Regions from separate parts of the Homo sapiens genome. Here region 2 is linked to region 1. Evidence: promoter capture Hi-C in 16 types of primary human blood cells and fetal thymus (Javierre and others, 2016). All regions are on one chromosome and are shown on one strand. Each heading gives the region's core, a stretch centred on a gene start or on the middle of the fragment in contact. The rest is flanking DNA. Distances are from core to core; before and after follow the strand shown.

Region 1 (7,835 bases), core at 3,627-6,126:
CCGCAGCATCATCAACACATTTGTTTCAAGATTAAAACCAAATATAAGGCGTTAGGAGTCTCTTGAAAGACACTTAATGATTTCATTCCTTTACCAGCCCGGATGGATGAAAGAAAGTTGATTGAAGAAAAGTTATTACAAATCAGGAAGGAAGGACAGTGTGATGCGTTCCAGCATCTGGGGTATCCTTTTTTTTTTTTTTCTCAAGCCATTTTTGAGCTGGAGATTGATATTTGTAACCAAAACAGCTTTCACTCATTCCAACCTGTAAAATGCTATCTTTTTTTTTTTTTTTTTTTTTTTTTTTGAGACGGGGTTTTGCCCTTGTTGCCCAGGCTGGAGTGCAGTGGCACGATCTTGGCTCACTGCAACCTCTGCCCCCTGGTTCAAGTGATTCCCCTGCCTCAGCCTCCTGAGTGGCTGATATTATAGGCGCCCACCACCATGCCCGGCTAATTTTTTTGTATTTTTAGTAGAGATGGGGTTTCACCATGTTGGCCAGGCTGGTATCAAACTCCTGACCTCAGGTGATCCACCAGCCTCGGCCCCTCAAAGTGCTGGGATTACAGGCGTGAGCCACTGCGCCTGGCCAAAATGCTATCTTTAGACACCACGCAGGCCATGAAAATTTTTGTTCAAACAAATTATAAAACTGATGAATCAGAAGTGTTCTGATGACAGCTAGCATTTGTGGAGTCCCTGCTGGAGTCAGATGCCATCCACGGGCTTTTTTTTTTTTTTTTTTTTAATGAGATAGGGTCTCGCTGTATCACCCAGGCTGGAGTGCAGTGCAGTGGGGTGATCATGGCTCACTGCAGCCTCAACCTTCGGGCTCAAGTGATCCTCCCACCTTAGCCTCCCGAGGAGCTGGGACTACAGGTGTGTACCACCACACCAAGTCTATATATAGATATATAATATATAAATATAAATATATTATATAAATATATATTAATATAAACATATAAATATAAATATATATTTATATATTTAATAAATATATATTATATATATATATAGTTTTTTTTTTTTTTGTAGAGATGGGGTTTTGTTATGTTGCCCAGGCTGGTCTCAAACTCCTGGCCTCAAGCAATCCTCCTACCTCAGTCTCCCATATTGCTGGGATTACAGATGTGAGCTACTATGCCTGGTCCTATGGGCTTTCATGAGGATTAAATCTCAGAATCTCCTCAAGTGATTCTGTGAGGTAATGACAGTTATTCCCATTGTACTGATGAGGAAATCAAGGCACAGAGAGACTTTGCCCAAGGCACCAAAGCAAAGAAGTGTCAGAGCCTGGAGTTGAACTCAAGGAGGCTGTCTGCAGAGTTGATCCCAGTTAGGGGACCATTGCTGCTCTCTACCCAGCCCAGGGTCCCATGCCCCACGTTCTATTCCAGCACACACCTGCTAAATAGACGGAGATCCCACAGCAGAAAAGGCCAAGGGCCACATGTCTGAGGAGGCGGCAGTCGTAGAGAAACCAGTCAGACCTGGAATGAAGGGGAGCAGGAAGATAAAGGGTTCAGGAAGTGGAGCTGGTGGGGGGAGGTCAGTGAGGACAGGGAGGGAGAGCCGCTTAAATGAGACAAGGACCCAGCTTTCAGGGACCCAAAATCTATGTGAGTACCTAACCATCATCCATCTACTTGCCCACCCATTTACATCCATTTACTTATCCACTCTCCATCTATCCATCAATTCATCCATCAGCTCATGTATCCATCAGCCCATCCATCCATCTATCCACCCATTTATCCATTCATCCATTCATCCATTTATCCACCCATTCACCCATTTGTCCACTCATCCATCCATCCACCCATCCATCCATATGCCCATTCATCCATCCACCCACTTACCCATCCATCCATCCATCCATTTATCCATTCATCCATTCATCCACCCATTCATCCATCTGTCCACTTATCCATCCACCCATCCATCCATCCATACTTCCACTCATCCATCCATCCACTTATCCATCCATCCATTCACTTATCCATCCATCAAACCAGTCATCCATCCACTCATTCATTCATCCATCCACTTATCAATTCATTCATCCATCCACTTATCCATCCATCGGCCCCACCCATTCATCCATCCATACAATCATTTAGATATCCACCATCCACTATCTGATATCTATCCATTTATCTATGCTCCATCCATCCACACATCCATTTTTCCAAGTCAGTGTCCACCATCCATTTACCATTCATATTCATTGATTATTTGACCAGCACTCATATACAGCCTTCCATCCATTTAACCATGTGCTATTCATCCATCCATCCATTCATTTAAACACCCTCTGCTATCCTATCTATCCATCCCTCACCCACCCATCCACTGGTCATCCATCTTCCATTCACTATCCATCCACCCCTCATCCATCCATCCATCCATCTATCCATCCATCCATTCATCCTTCCTTACTTCGATCCATCCACCATCCATTCTCTTTCCCCTATAACCCATCTATATGCATGAGTCCACTCAAACACTCAACACTCAGGATGCAGCTACTATGTGCAGATACTTGCTACACACCTGGCTTCCATTATTTTACAGACTACAAGCTTCTTTGAGAGATGAGGAAACTGAGTTTCACATGCTGTTATTGATGATACAAACCGCGACCCCAAGAGGTGAGACTGATTGAGGAGGAAGTGGAGGCTATAAGAGCTTCCATCCTCACTCAGCTCCCACCAGTATAATGAAAGTGGACGCCTTCCCCATCTTCCTGTCGCCTTCCCTCCTGTCCCCTTTTCAGCACAGTGGCTAGAGGTGGTCATTCAAAACCTAAATCAGATCACCTTCCTCCTTACTCACAACCCTCCTTAGCAGAAGAAATCCCAAAGTCCTATCTCCTCTCTATCCCATCTCTCTGTTTCCTTTCCTTCTCAGCACTCATTACCATCTGCTATTATTATTATTATTAGAGATGAGGTCTCACTATGTTGCCCAAACTAGAGTGCAGTGGTTATTCATAAGCATGATCATGGCTCACTGCAGCCTTGACCTCCTGGGCTCAAGGGATCCTCTTGCCTCAGCCTCTTAAGTGTATGGGACTACAGGCATGCACCACCACACCTAGCTAATTATTATTTTTTCTTTTTGTAGAGGCAAGGTCTTGCTATATTACCCAGGCTGGTCTCAAATTCCTGGCCTCCCAGCACTTTGGGAGGCCAAGGTGGGTGGGTCATTTGAGGTCAGGAGTTCAAGACCAGCCTGGCCAACATGGTGAAACCCCGCCTCTACTAAAAATACAAAAATTAGCTGGGTATGGTGGTGGGCACCTGTAATCCCAGCTACTCGGGAGGCTAAGGTGGGAGAATCGCTTGAACCCAAGAGGTGGAGGCTGCAGTGAACCGAGATAGCGCCACTGCACTCCAGCCTGGGTGACAGAGCAAGACTCTGTCTCAAAAAAAAAAAAAGAAAAAAAAATTCCTGGCCTCAAATGATCCTCCTGCCTCTGCCTCCCAAAGGGCTGGGATTGCAGGTGTGAACCACCATGCCTTGTCCTTGTTATGTTTCCTTATTTTCTGTGACCCCATGAGAGCAGGTCTGGGTCCACTTGGTCCCCGCTGTCTCTGATGCCCTGAGCCAGATCCATTCCCCTGCAGGCAGGCACCCAACAGATGTTTGCTGACCCGTGGGACCCATGCATTTCATTGTCCCTTGGGTGGAAGGTGCATGGTCTGGATAGGATCTACCTCAATGGTGGGAGTTCTCATCTGCTCAATTTCACAGAATTCTGGACTAGAATTTGGGCTCCTCTCCCCCGACATTCTGGAGAGAAACACTACCATGTGGGACAGCGGAGTCCTCAGCTCAAGGAGGGTTCCTCCTTCCACAACCACTGCCCCTGATAGGGGTCCCTCAATGACCACATCCCTGACTGAGTTCAGGTCCCTGAGGAAGGAACTCAATTTCAGACCAGGACACAGGCTCTGGCTGGCTCTACCCAGAACCAAGTTCAAGTCCAGCACTGTCCCGCCTCCCACCCACTTCCAAGCCAGACAGCCTGAGAGCTCAGCCTCCCCTGTTTGAGATCCAGGCAAGCTGATCCTGGACCCTCTTTGAGCCTCAGTTTCCTCATCTGCAAAATGCGAGACACAGCAGTGGTTGCACCTGCTGCAAAATTGAACAAATATAGAATGGAGGGAGGGAAGGAGGGAGGAGGAGAGGAAAGGAGGGAGGCAGAGAGACATGGAGTGGTGGGGAGAGGGAAGTGGGGAGGGAAGCTGTCCCCCCAGCCTGAGGCCAAAAGAGGGGAAGAGGCTCAACCAGGCTCACCCAGCCCCCAGCCGGGCCTCCGAGGCGGTGAGGCCAGTCCTCCTACCTCCTGGGGCCAGGCCCCCGCGCCAGCTCGGCGCCCAGGTGGCCACAGAGCGCGGCGAGCAGCAAGCAGGTGAACCCCAGCACGAGCACCAGCGCGGCCAGCGCGGCGGCCAGCGGCAGCAGCGTCCCGGCCGCGTCCTCTGGCAGCCCGGGGCCGGCGCCCAGCTCCTGGCCCAGCCCCTCGGCGCGCAGCCCCCGCAGCTCGGCGCGGCCCGCCTGCAGCTGAAACAGCAGCTGCGCGCCCAGCGCCGCCAGCACGGCCGCCGCGATGCCCAGCAGGGTCATTGCAGCCAGCACCCGGCCGCCGTAAGAACGGGCCATGGCGGGGGTTCCTGCGGGCCGGGGGAAGAGTTGAGGAATTGAAGTGGTTTTAGAGGGCAGGGGAGTTGGGGGGAATCCGAGGGTCCTCAGGGGGTCCCCGAGGGGGCGGGGCCGCAGGGAGTGTCTGAAAGTTCGGGGACTGGGCTGGGGGTCGCCAGACGGACGGGGGCTCCGGGGTGCTGGTCGCAGCCGGGACGCCGAATCTCCGCGAAAACTTGGGACAAAGTCTTTTCTCCTCCCTCCCGGGGCCCCGCGGGCGCCCCCTCTTGGTCCGCTGGGCCTGGCGGGGCGGGGCCTGGCACCGGGCGCAGGGCGGGGAGGCCCCACTAGGGACTGGATCGCGGGAACCCCACAGCTCGCTAAGTTCAGAAAAGGGCACCACCCCGCCCCCTGCCGCCCTAAGCATCGATTGTATTGTGGTTTAAAACAAGAAAAAGGAGGCCGGGGGCGGTGGCTCTCGCCTGTAATCCCAGCACCTTGGGAGGCCGAGGCGGGCGGATCACAAGGTCAAGAGTTCCAGACCAGCCTGGCCAATATGGTGAAACCCCGTCTCTACTAAAAATACAAAAATTAGCCGGGCGTGGTGGCCGGAGCCTGTAATCCCAGCTACTCGGGAGGCTGATGCAGGAGAATTGCTTGAACCCAGGAGGCGGAGGTTTCAGTGAGCTGAGATTACGCCATTGCACTGCAGCCTGGGCGACAGAGCGAGACTCCGTCTCAAAATTAATTAATTAATTAATTAAAAAATAAAAAATAAAGAGAAAGGAGGCCGGGCGCGGTGGCTCTCGCTTGTAATCTCAGCACTTTAGGAGTCCGAGGTGGGCGGATCACTTGAGGTCAGGAGTTCAAGACCAGCCTGGCCAACATGGTGAAACCCCCGTCTCTACTAAAAAAAAAAAAAAAAAAAAAAATTAGCCCGGCGTAGTGGTGCATGGCCTGTAATCCTAGCTACTCGGGAGGCTGAGGTTGGAGGAATGCTTGAATCAGGGAGGCGGAGGTTGCAGTGAGCCGAGATTGCACCACTGCACACTCCAGCCTGGCTGACAGAGTAAGACTCCATCAAAAAAAAAAAAAAAAAAAAAGAGAGAGAGAGAGAAAGGGCTGGGTGAGGTGGTTCACAACTGTAATCCCAGCACTTTGGGAGGCTGAGGCAGGAGGATGGCTTAAGCCCAGGAGTTTGAGACCAGCCTGGGCAACATAGCCAGACCCCATCTCTACAAAAAATAAGGAAGTCAGCCTGGTGTGGTGGTGCACGCCTGTGGACCCAGCTACTTTCGGGACTGAGACAGGAGGATCGCTTGAGCCCAGGAGGTCGAGGCTGCAGTGAACTGAGATCACGCCACTGCACTCCAGCCTGAGTGACAGAGCGAGGCTGTGTCTCAAAAAAGAAATAACAAAATTTAAAAATTCACTTTTCATTTGATCTCAACCCAGGGACTCTGTCATTGGCTGTGATTTCCCCTCTGCTTACTTCCTTCAAGCCTTTGGGTAACCGTTGCTTCCTCTAGGAGGCTAGGGAGAATCCTGGATCCCTTCCCCAACTGGTCCCCCAAATTATTCGCACAGCACTTTAAAAAAATCGAGATGAAACTTACATAACATAAAATTAATCATTTTATTCAGTGGCATTTAGTGTTGTACAATCATTACCTCTGTCTAGCTCCAGAAGATTTTCATCCCCCCAAAAGGAGACCCCATCCCCATTACCAGCCACTCCCCATTCCCCCTCCTCAAGTGGCTCACAACCATTAATCTACTTCTTGTCTCTGTCGATTTGCCTGTTCTGGACACTTCATATCAATGGAGTCATACAAGAGGTGGCATTCTGGCTTCTCTCACTCTGCATGATGTACTCAAGGTTCATCGAGGTTGTAGCATGGATCAGTGCCTCATTCCTTTTTATGGCTGCGTAATATTCCATAGCGTGTCTGGAACACATTGTGTTCATCCGTTCATCCATTGATGGGTATTTGTGTTGTTGGTTCCTTTTGGTGAAGGTGACTAATGCTGCTATAAACATGTGTGCACAGGTATCTTCTTGAGTCACTGCTGTCAATTCTTGTGGGGCGTGGACTCCTAGGAGTGGAGTTGCTGAGTCACATAGTTACTCTATTTTAACTCTTTGTGGAACCCTCAAACTTTTCCACAGCAGCTGCACCGTTTTCCATTTCCACCAGCAATGTCTGAGGTTTTTAAAAATAATTTTCTGCACATCCTCCCCAACACGTGTTTCCTCCTGCCCTCCTCCTCCTCCTCTTCCTTCTCCTCCTCCTCCTCCCTTCCTTCTCCTCCTCCTCCTTTCTTCCTCCTCCTCGTCTCCTCCTCCTCCTTCTTCTTTTTTTTTTTATCAGGGCCTTGCTCTGTCACCCAGGCTGGATTGCAGTGGTGTGATCATAGCTCATTACAGCCTTGACCTCCTGCTCAAGTGATCTTTCTGCCTCAGCCTCTCCCCAAGTAGCTGGGACCACAGGCAAGCATCAGCATGCCTGGCTAATTTTTAAGTTTTTTTTTTTTTTTCATAGAGATGGGGTCTTGTTATGTTGGTCTGGTCTCAAACTCTTTATACCCAAGTGATTCTCTCACCTCAGTCCCCCTAAATGCTGGGATTACAGGAGTGAGCCACCACACCCAGCCTCCTCCTTCCTCATAATAGCCTTTTTTTTTTTTTTTTTTTTTGAGATGAACTCTCACTCTGTTGCCCAGACTGGAGTGCAGTGGTGAGATCTCGGCTCACTGCAACCTCCACCTCCCGGGTTCAAGCGATTCTTGCACCTCAGCTTCCCAAGTAGCAGGATTACAGGTGCCTACCACCACACTCAGCTAATTTTTGTATTTTTAGTAGAAACAGGGTTTCACCATGTTGGCCAGGCTGGTCTCAAACTCCTGCCTCAAGTGATCCTCCCACCTCGGCCTCCCAGAGTGTTGGAATTACAGGTGTGAGCCACCATACCCAGCCAGTTTTTAAAATTTTTTTGTAGAGATGGGGTCTTGCTATGTTGGTCTTGTCTCAAACTTCTTATGCCCAAGTGATCCTCTCACCTCAGCCTCCTGAAGTGCTGGGGGATTACAGAGTGAGCCACCACACCCAGCCTCCTCCTCCCTGATAATAGTCATTCTGATGCTTATAAAGTAATATCTCATTGTGGTTTTTATTTGCATTTCCC
Region 2 (7,835 bases), core at 1,943-4,442, 270 kb after region 1:
TCCGCCTGTCTCAGCCTCCCAAAATATTGGGATTACAGGTGTGAGCTACTACACCCAGCCTGACCATGTCTATATTAAACCTCAACAAAACTGTTAAAATAAGAAAATAATTGCCAGGAGAAGATGAGAATATCCAGCAGTCCTGAGGGCTCAGGGTTCCGTTTTCCCCACAAATGCCATCATCTGACGCCTCTGGGGATGGTGACCTTGAAACAGTCATGGAGCTGGGCCAGAAACCAGAGACCAGAGTCCCATGCCTGGGATTTGAGCAGTGGTCTCAGAGGCTTCTCAGTTTCTAGGGAAATGCACCCCACATGTCCCACACCAGAGTCCTCAAGCTTGGGAAATGCTTTGGGACAGGAAGACCTCATGGCTCCAAGTACTCAGGACATTATCTCCCAAAAACCTAATGGGGGAGACCTTCATCCCCAAATCAGATCCCCCTAGTGGAGACATTTCTTCAGGCCCTGTAAGACCAACTAGTAATAGAATTAATACCAACAGGCCGGTGCAGTGGCCCATACCTATAATCTCAGCACTTTGGGAGGCCAAGTGGGGCAGATTACTTGAAGTCAGGAGTTCGAGACCATCCTGGCCAACATGGTGAAACCCCATGTCTCTACTAAAAATACAAAAATTAGCCAGGCATGGTGGTGGGTACCGTAATCCCAGCTACTCAGGAGGCTGAGGCAGGAGAATCCCTTGAACCCGGGAGGCGGAGCTTGCAGTGAGCCGAGGTTACACCACTGTGCTCCAACCTAGCCTGCTTGACAGAACAAGACTCTCTCTCTCTCTCTCAGAATGATTCTGGCAAGGGCGACAGAGTGAGAATCCGTCTCAAAAAAAAAAAAAAGAAAGAAAAAAAAGAATTAGTACCAACAATCATAATTCACAGCGTGGGCAGAAGGAAGTGGATAGACTTCCATTCAGAAGCTCCTGGGTTCGAATCCTGGACCCATCCATAAATACACAAGGAAGGAAGGAAGGAAGGAATAGTGGACAAATAGGCCTTTCAGCCCATTCCAAAAGACTTTATCATATCCCTTCTCAGATGCCCAAGCCTTGTGTTGCACAAGGCCAGGGCCCCAGAGAGGCCTCAGGCTTCCAAAAGTTTCCAGCCTTATAGGGGAGATAGTGCCCGACACAGACACTCCCACTACTATTACTGCTCACAGCAATAACAGAAGAAATCACAGGCAGGCGAGACACAGGGAAGGGAGCCAAGGGGGAGGGACAAGGATAGAGGAAGGATGCCAGAACCAAAAAGAGAGAGAGGAAGTGGAGTGCAAGAATGGTAGACGGCACGTGGCCAGTGGCTGTTACACACTGGCCAGGGAGGAAGTTGGGCTGAACAACCTAGATAATAAACGGCAGCGGGAGGCTGATTCGCCTTCCCAGATCTTTCCCATTTCTGTTCTGCTTTTCTTTGCATACTCCCGGAGACAGGGAGCTCACTCCTGAGAAAGGAGGTTCAATGTTTCCTGGGCATGGACCACTGTCCAGAAGTTCCAAGCAAGATGATTTGTCAAGTAGTAGCCCCTATGGGTCAAAGGGCTAAAGGGGGCCAGGCGCGGCGGCTCACGCCTGTAATCCCAGCACTTTGGGAGGCCAAGGCAGGAGGATCACTTGAGGTCAGGAGTTCGAGACCAGCCTGGCCAACATGGTGAAACCCCATCTCTGCCGGGCACGGTGGCTCACGCCTGTAATCCCAGCACTTTGGGAGGCCGAGGCAGGCAGATCACGAGGTCAGGAGATCGAGACCACGGTGAAACCCCGTCTCTACTGAAAATACAAAAAATTAGCTGGGCACAGTGGCGGGCGCCTGTAGTCCCAGCTACTCGGGAGGCTGAGGCAGGAGAATGGCATGAACCTGGGAGGTGGAGCTTGCAGTGAGCCGAGATCGCGCCACTACCCTTCAGCCTGGGCGACAGAGCGAGACTCTGTCTCTAAAAGAAAAGAAAAGAAAAGAAAAGAAAAGAAAAGAAAAGAAAAGAAAAGAAAAGAAACCTCATCTCTACTAAAATACAAAAATTAGCAGGGCATGGTGGCGGACACCTATAATCCCGCTACTTGGGAGGCTGAGGCAAGGGAATCGCTTGAACCCGGGAGGCAGAGGTTGCAGTGAGCTGAGATTGTGCCATTGCACTCCAGCCTGGGCGGCAGAATGAGACTCCATCTCAAGAAAAGGAAAGGAGAGGAGAGGAGAGGGGAGAGGAGGGGAGGGGAGGGGAGGGAGAGGAAGGGAGGGGAGGGGAGGAGAGGAGAGGAGAGGGGAGAGAAGGGGAGGGGAGGGGAGAAGAGGAGAGGAGGGGAGGGGAGGAGAGGAGAAGAGAGGGGAGGAAAGGAAAGAAAAGCCTAAAGAGGATTATCTGGGGAGAGAGAGGTACCCATGTGCGCAACGCAGGCAGTCCCTTGCACAGGCTGGATCTAGAGTAAGACCCACTTGGGTTCAAACCTGCTCTACCACTTACAGGCCTGGTGACTTCATCCCTCCAAATCTCAGTTTCCTCTTCTTTCCTCTGAAAGTGACCACAGTAACTGTGCCTACTCATCTGTGCCTACATACAAGCACAAAACTCATCGCTTTGTGCTTGTATGTAATGAGCTAATGCAATAAAATACCTGGCGCACAGGAGGTGCAGAATAAGTGTTGCCCTGTTCCAGGCAGGCCCAGAGTGCTCCGGTTGTGTCCCAAACACACATGTACTTTCTTACCTCTAAAACTTTGCACCTGCTGTAAACTTCTGCCTCACCAGCTCTTGCCCCACCACCCACAAGGCAAACTCCTACACATCCCTTAAAGCCCTACCTACAAGATAGATTTCTTTTCTCTGTTCAAGCCCTGACCTAGAGAGCTGGGAGCATCCATAGGCACCGGGTTCTGATGCGGCCTACTGTCATGTGATGTGAGTTCCTGGAGGGCAGGAGTTCTGACCTACATGCAGCAGGCACGCAATCAAAGCTTGTTCAATGAAAAAAAAAATGAATGAATGGTCACTTGGGAGAGGCGGCTCCCAAGCGGACACCCAGGAGTCGGCCAACCCCTTTAACGCCCGCATCCCCTGCTCTCCACGACCTCAAAGGGCCTGTAAGTGGTCGACAAAAAGGGGCGGGGATGCGGTGGTTCCGGGCGGGGTCTTCAGCCCTTCCGGTGCGGCCCCTTTAAGAGGCGGGGCCTGCGGGGCGGGCGCCGAGAACGCCGGGGCGGCCCGAAGATGGCGGCGGTGGCTGGATCTGGGGCTGCCGCGGCTCCGAGCTCACTGCTCCTCGTGGTGGGCAGCGAGTTCGGGAGCCCGGGGCTCCTCACCTACGTCCTGGAGGAGCTCGAAAGAGGTCGGGCTGGCCTGGGGGCCCGCGGGAGCCCGGGAGGCGGGCCCGTTCGCGCGTCTGGGCCCGGGGCCGGCGGGGTGGGGCGGCGGCGGCGGCGGCGGCGGGACCCGGGCTCCGGGGCGGGGGTCGCGGGCCTGGGGCTGGGTCCCCTTCACCGTTAGGCGCACGACGCGGGCAAAGGCGGGGTGCCCGTGGGTGCCCGCGGAGAAAGTGGCATCCGGGCCTGGGCTGGGCAGGGCTGCCCCGCCCCAACTCCGGGTGAAGATAGGGGAGGGGACACGGGCCTGGGCTTGGGGACCCTTGCAGTTGGACCACGGCTCCGCTTCCCGCCTGACTGGCCTGCCCGGGGGTAGGGCCTGGGGTCGCTTTGGATCTCCAGGTCTTAGCAGCTTAGATAGAGATCTCCCGGAGGGAGAAGCAGATATGGGGGAGGCTGGGCCTGGAGCCCCGGGGCCCGCTTTCTGTTGCCTCACAAGGAGCTGCTAATTGGGGTGTGGGCGGGTGCGGCCTGCCCTGGGGATTTGGCACCTAGGGAGGTGAGTCATAGGCGCACCTGCCAGGTTCACCTGCAGCCACTTGGCTCAGTGGGACTGGCGGGCGTGATGCGCCCGTGGGTGGAGATGGGTGTTCATCCCCCATCCCTCGGAGCATCTGGACCTGGCGTTTCATTGCATGTAAAATGGGACAGGAACACGCACCTCGGTTCATGTGCTTGAGGAGTGTTTAGTGAGCACCTGCTATGCGCCAGGCCTTTGGGCAGTGGACACAGGGATATGGCCGGGATGATAGACAGGTTCAGCCCTGCCAACACAGGTCTGGTTTGGGGATGGACCCAAAGCGAGTGAGGAGATGGAACAAGCTTCCAGCTCACATGGTGTCAGGAAGGATGAGAAGGCTGCAAGGGACTGAGAGGACAGTCAGTCTTAGCACCCGAAGGTGCTGAGGGGGAAGGGCCCCCTGGCCAGTAGGAACAGGTGGGGGCGGCAGGGGGATGGACTTCCAGGCAGGGGAAACAGCTGTTGCAAGGGCGGTGAGTGGAAACGGGTCTGGCAGGGCATAGGAGCAGCGAGGAGGTGGAGATGGAGGAGGTGGAGGCTTTGTTGCTGATGAATCTTGTGTGTAAAATGATGAGGTGTGCTCTGGGTCCCCTGGCTCAGCTGCAGCGAGACCTGAAGGTGTTGGGTACTTCTGAGTCTCCAAGCTGTGAGTGAAGGGAGGAGGCTGGGGCGCTCCCCACCCACGGGGTGCTAATTATTGAAATATTCTGGGAGCTGGGGGGCCCGGCTGAACTCCCGCCTTGATCCCTCCTTCCCACCAGGCATCCGGTCTTGGGATGTCGATCCTGGCGTCTGCAACCTTGATGAACAGCTCAAGGTCTTTGTGTCCCGACACTCTGCCACCTTCTCCAGCATTGTGAAAGGTGAGGCTGGGGTCCCCCTGACTGCTCCCTACCTCTTGTTATTTGGGGAAGTGCCAGCCGTGTGCCAGGCATGGGGGGTGGGATGCAGCTATAAATAACAACAGTAATAATACAGTTGAGACCTTTCAAATGCAAGCCGTGACCCAGTGATAACCCCCTCAGTCCTCAGCAACCCACAGTGCAGGAACTGGTGTTTTTGTCCCTGATTGACAGATGAGGAAATTGGCATTGAAGGGGGAAGAGGCAGGGAGATCTCTGAGGAGGGGGTTTTTTGATGAGAAACTGCTATGACTGGTGTGTCCAGTGGAAGGGAAGGGCCCCAGTCAAGACCCAGCAGTGGACAGAACATCTAGAATGAACCGGGCGCGGTGGCTTACGCCTCTGATCTCAGCACTTTGGGAGGCCGCAGCGGGCGGATCACTTGAGGTCAGGAGTTGGAGACTAGCCTGGCCAACGTGGAGGAACCCTGTCTCTACTAAGAATACAAAAATAACGGCATGGTGGCAGGCGCCTCTAATCCCAGCTACTCGGGAGGCTGAGGTGGGAGGATCACATGAACCCAGGAGGCAGAGGTTACAGTGGGGCTGAGACTGCGCCACTGCACTCCTGCCTGAGTGACAGAGTGGGAGGGACTCTGTCTCAGAACAAACAAACAAACAAAAAACATCTGGAAGGTGGAGGGGCACTGAGCAGGCCCTGGAAGATGGAGTGTGGGCCCCTTGCAGGAAGGGACTGATACTGGTTCACAGCCACAGGCCTGGGTATACAGTAGGCAGGGAACTGAAAAGGAGTGAGATCAAGAAGGGCCCAACTCAGCACGAGGCTCCCTTCTAGGGTGACCCAGGGTGAGCAGAGCAGCAGGCGGGCAGGCAGGGCTTGGGTGTTGCCTGCAGCCGCCCCCGGCTCCTGATGGTCTCTTGAGTCACCTCCCGGCTGCTGCTGGAGAGGAAGGAAGTGTCTGTAGTCTCATTGTCCCAGTTGGTCCTTGTGGCTTCCTGACACTTCATGGGGCAGAAAGTGGAGCTGGAAATCCTGTCTGCTGTGTGTGAACTTCGTGGCCACTTCCCTTCTTTATGCCTTGATTTCCCCACCTGAATGGGGCAATATCCCTGTGTGGCAAAAAGCGTGCTAAGGCTGGGTGGGGTGGCTCTCGCCTGTAATCCCAACACTTTGGGAGGTCAAAGTGGGAGGATTTTTTGAGGTCAGGAGTTCAAAACCAGCTGGGGCAACATGGTGAAACCCTGTCCCTACTGAAAATGCAAAAATGAGCTGGACCTGGTGGTGCACACCTGTAGTCCCAGCTACTCAGGAGCCCGAGGAGGGAGGATCGCTTTTACCCAGGAGGCAGAGGCTGCAGTGAGCTAAGATTGTGCCACTGCACTTCAGCCTGGGCAACAGAGCGAGACCCTGTCTCAAAAAAATAAACTTAGGCCTGACATGGTGGCTCACACCTATAATCCCAGCACTTTGGAAGGCTGAGGTGGGTGGATCACCTGAGGTCAGGAGTTCGAGACCAGCCTGACCAGTATGGTGACACCCCATCTCTACTAAAAATACAAAAATTAGCTGGTTGTGGTGGCAAGCGCCTATAACCCCAGCTACTTGGGAGACTGAGGTTGGAGAATTGCTTGAACTCAGGAGGCAGAGGTTGCAGTGAGCTGAGATCGTGCCACTACACTTCAGCCTGGGCAATAGAGGGAGATTCCATCTCAAAAAAGAGAGAGAGAGAGAGGGAGGGAGGGAGGGAGGGGGAGAGGGAGGGAGAGAGAGAGAGAAAGGAAAGAGAAAGCTAAATGTGATAAGGGCGAGAGAGAGAGAAAGGGAAAAGAAGGAAAGAAAGGAAAGAAAGTTAAATGTGATAAGGGCTGGCAACACTGGAGGGTCTCTGCCTCTCAAGACTCAGCCTTGTTCACAGTTCAGTCCTGCCTCAGGGGCCTTGGCTGGTGCTGTACCCTGGTCCGGGTTGGCCCTCACCGGCCCCCACCCCGGCTCTGGCTCCTTGCCACCCCCCTCTCACAGTACTGATGTTTAAAACACATACGGGCCCTGGGGGACAGAGCAGGGTCAGGATCCCAGAAACAGCCCTACTTCAGCCCCGGCCCTTATGCTGCCCCACCCCTAGCTGAGTCCTGCCTCAGGACCTTTGCTCCGGATGTACCCTCGTCCACGTTCGCCCTCATTGGCCCTCCTCGAGCTCTGGCTCTCTGTCTGAAAAATAAATGTGGCCGGATGGGTGCAGTGGGTCAAGTCTGTAATCCCAGCACTTTGGGAGGCCGAGGCAGGCGGATCACCTGAGGTCAGGAGTTTGAGACCAGCCTGACCCACATGTTAAAACCCCGTCTCTACTAAAAATTGAAAAAATTAATGGGGCGTGGTGGCGTGTGCCTGTAATCCCAGCTACTCGGGAGGCTGAGGCAGGAGAATTGCTTGAACCCAGGAGGCGGAGGTTGCAGTGAGCCCAGGTTGCACTGTTGCACGCCAGCCTGGGCAACAAGAGCAAAACTCCGTCTCAAAAAAAAAGAAAAGAAAAAGGCCGGGCGCGGTGGCTCACGCCTGTAATCCCAGCACTTTGGGAGGCCGAGGCAGGCGGATCACGAGGTCAGGATATGGAGACTATCCTGGCTTACACGGTGAAACCCTGTCTCTACTAAAAATACAAAAACTTAGCCGGGTGTGGTGGCGGGCACCTGTAGTCCTGGCTACTCGGGAGGCTGAGGCAGGAGAATGGCGTGAACCCGGGAGGAGGAGCGGAGCTTGCAGTGAGCAGAGATTGCACCACTGCCCTCCAGCCTGGGCGACAGAGCGAGACTCCGTCTCACAAAAAAAAGAAGAAAATGGTGGCATCACTCCCAGGGGTGACAGCTGCAAACCAGGCCCTGCGCACGATGGGGCCCTCTGGTTACTGCCTCTCTTAGGCCAGCTGGGGTGGTTTGAGTTTCTCTTTCTTGCCTGGTCCTGACCTGCAGCTCTGCCGTGCGCCTGTTAATCTCCATATGATCCCTGGGTGGGTTCCCAGAGGGGTTCATGTTCCCTGAGGGTCACACGGGGAGGCAGGATTTGACTCCGGGACGGCCTGATTCCCCCA

What was found. Contacts are between HindIII fragments. The CHiCAGO score rates a contact against its expected background, and 5 or more counts as called.
Region 2: the fragment with the promoter of MAP1S here is called in contact with the fragment with the promoter of TMEM221 in region 1 in 2 of 17 cell types (megakaryocytes and endothelial precursors); the score reaches 5.6 in megakaryocytes.

What each region holds. Positions count from the first base shown.
Region 1 is chr19:17,443,792-17,451,626 of GRCh38, forward strand. It overlaps TMEM221 (transmembrane protein 221), which reads right to left and starts at 4,877. Exons shown (of 3, transcript NM_001190844.2): 1 at 4,352-4,877; 2 at 1,408-1,493. The coding sequence starts at 4,671. RefSeq lists a silencer at 4,891-5,010. The HindIII fragment of the contact is 12,702 bases long and covers 2,584-7,835 here.
Region 2 is chr19:17,716,288-17,724,122 of GRCh38, forward strand. MAP1S (microtubule associated protein 1S) reads left to right here and starts at 3,193. Exons shown (of 7, transcript NM_018174.6): 1 at 3,193-3,333; 2 at 4,649-4,750. The coding sequence starts at 3,216. RefSeq lists enhancers at 1,223-1,724, 3,775-3,844, 4,235-4,384 and a silencer at 3,375-3,424. The HindIII fragment of the contact is 1,227 bases long and covers 2,961-4,187 here.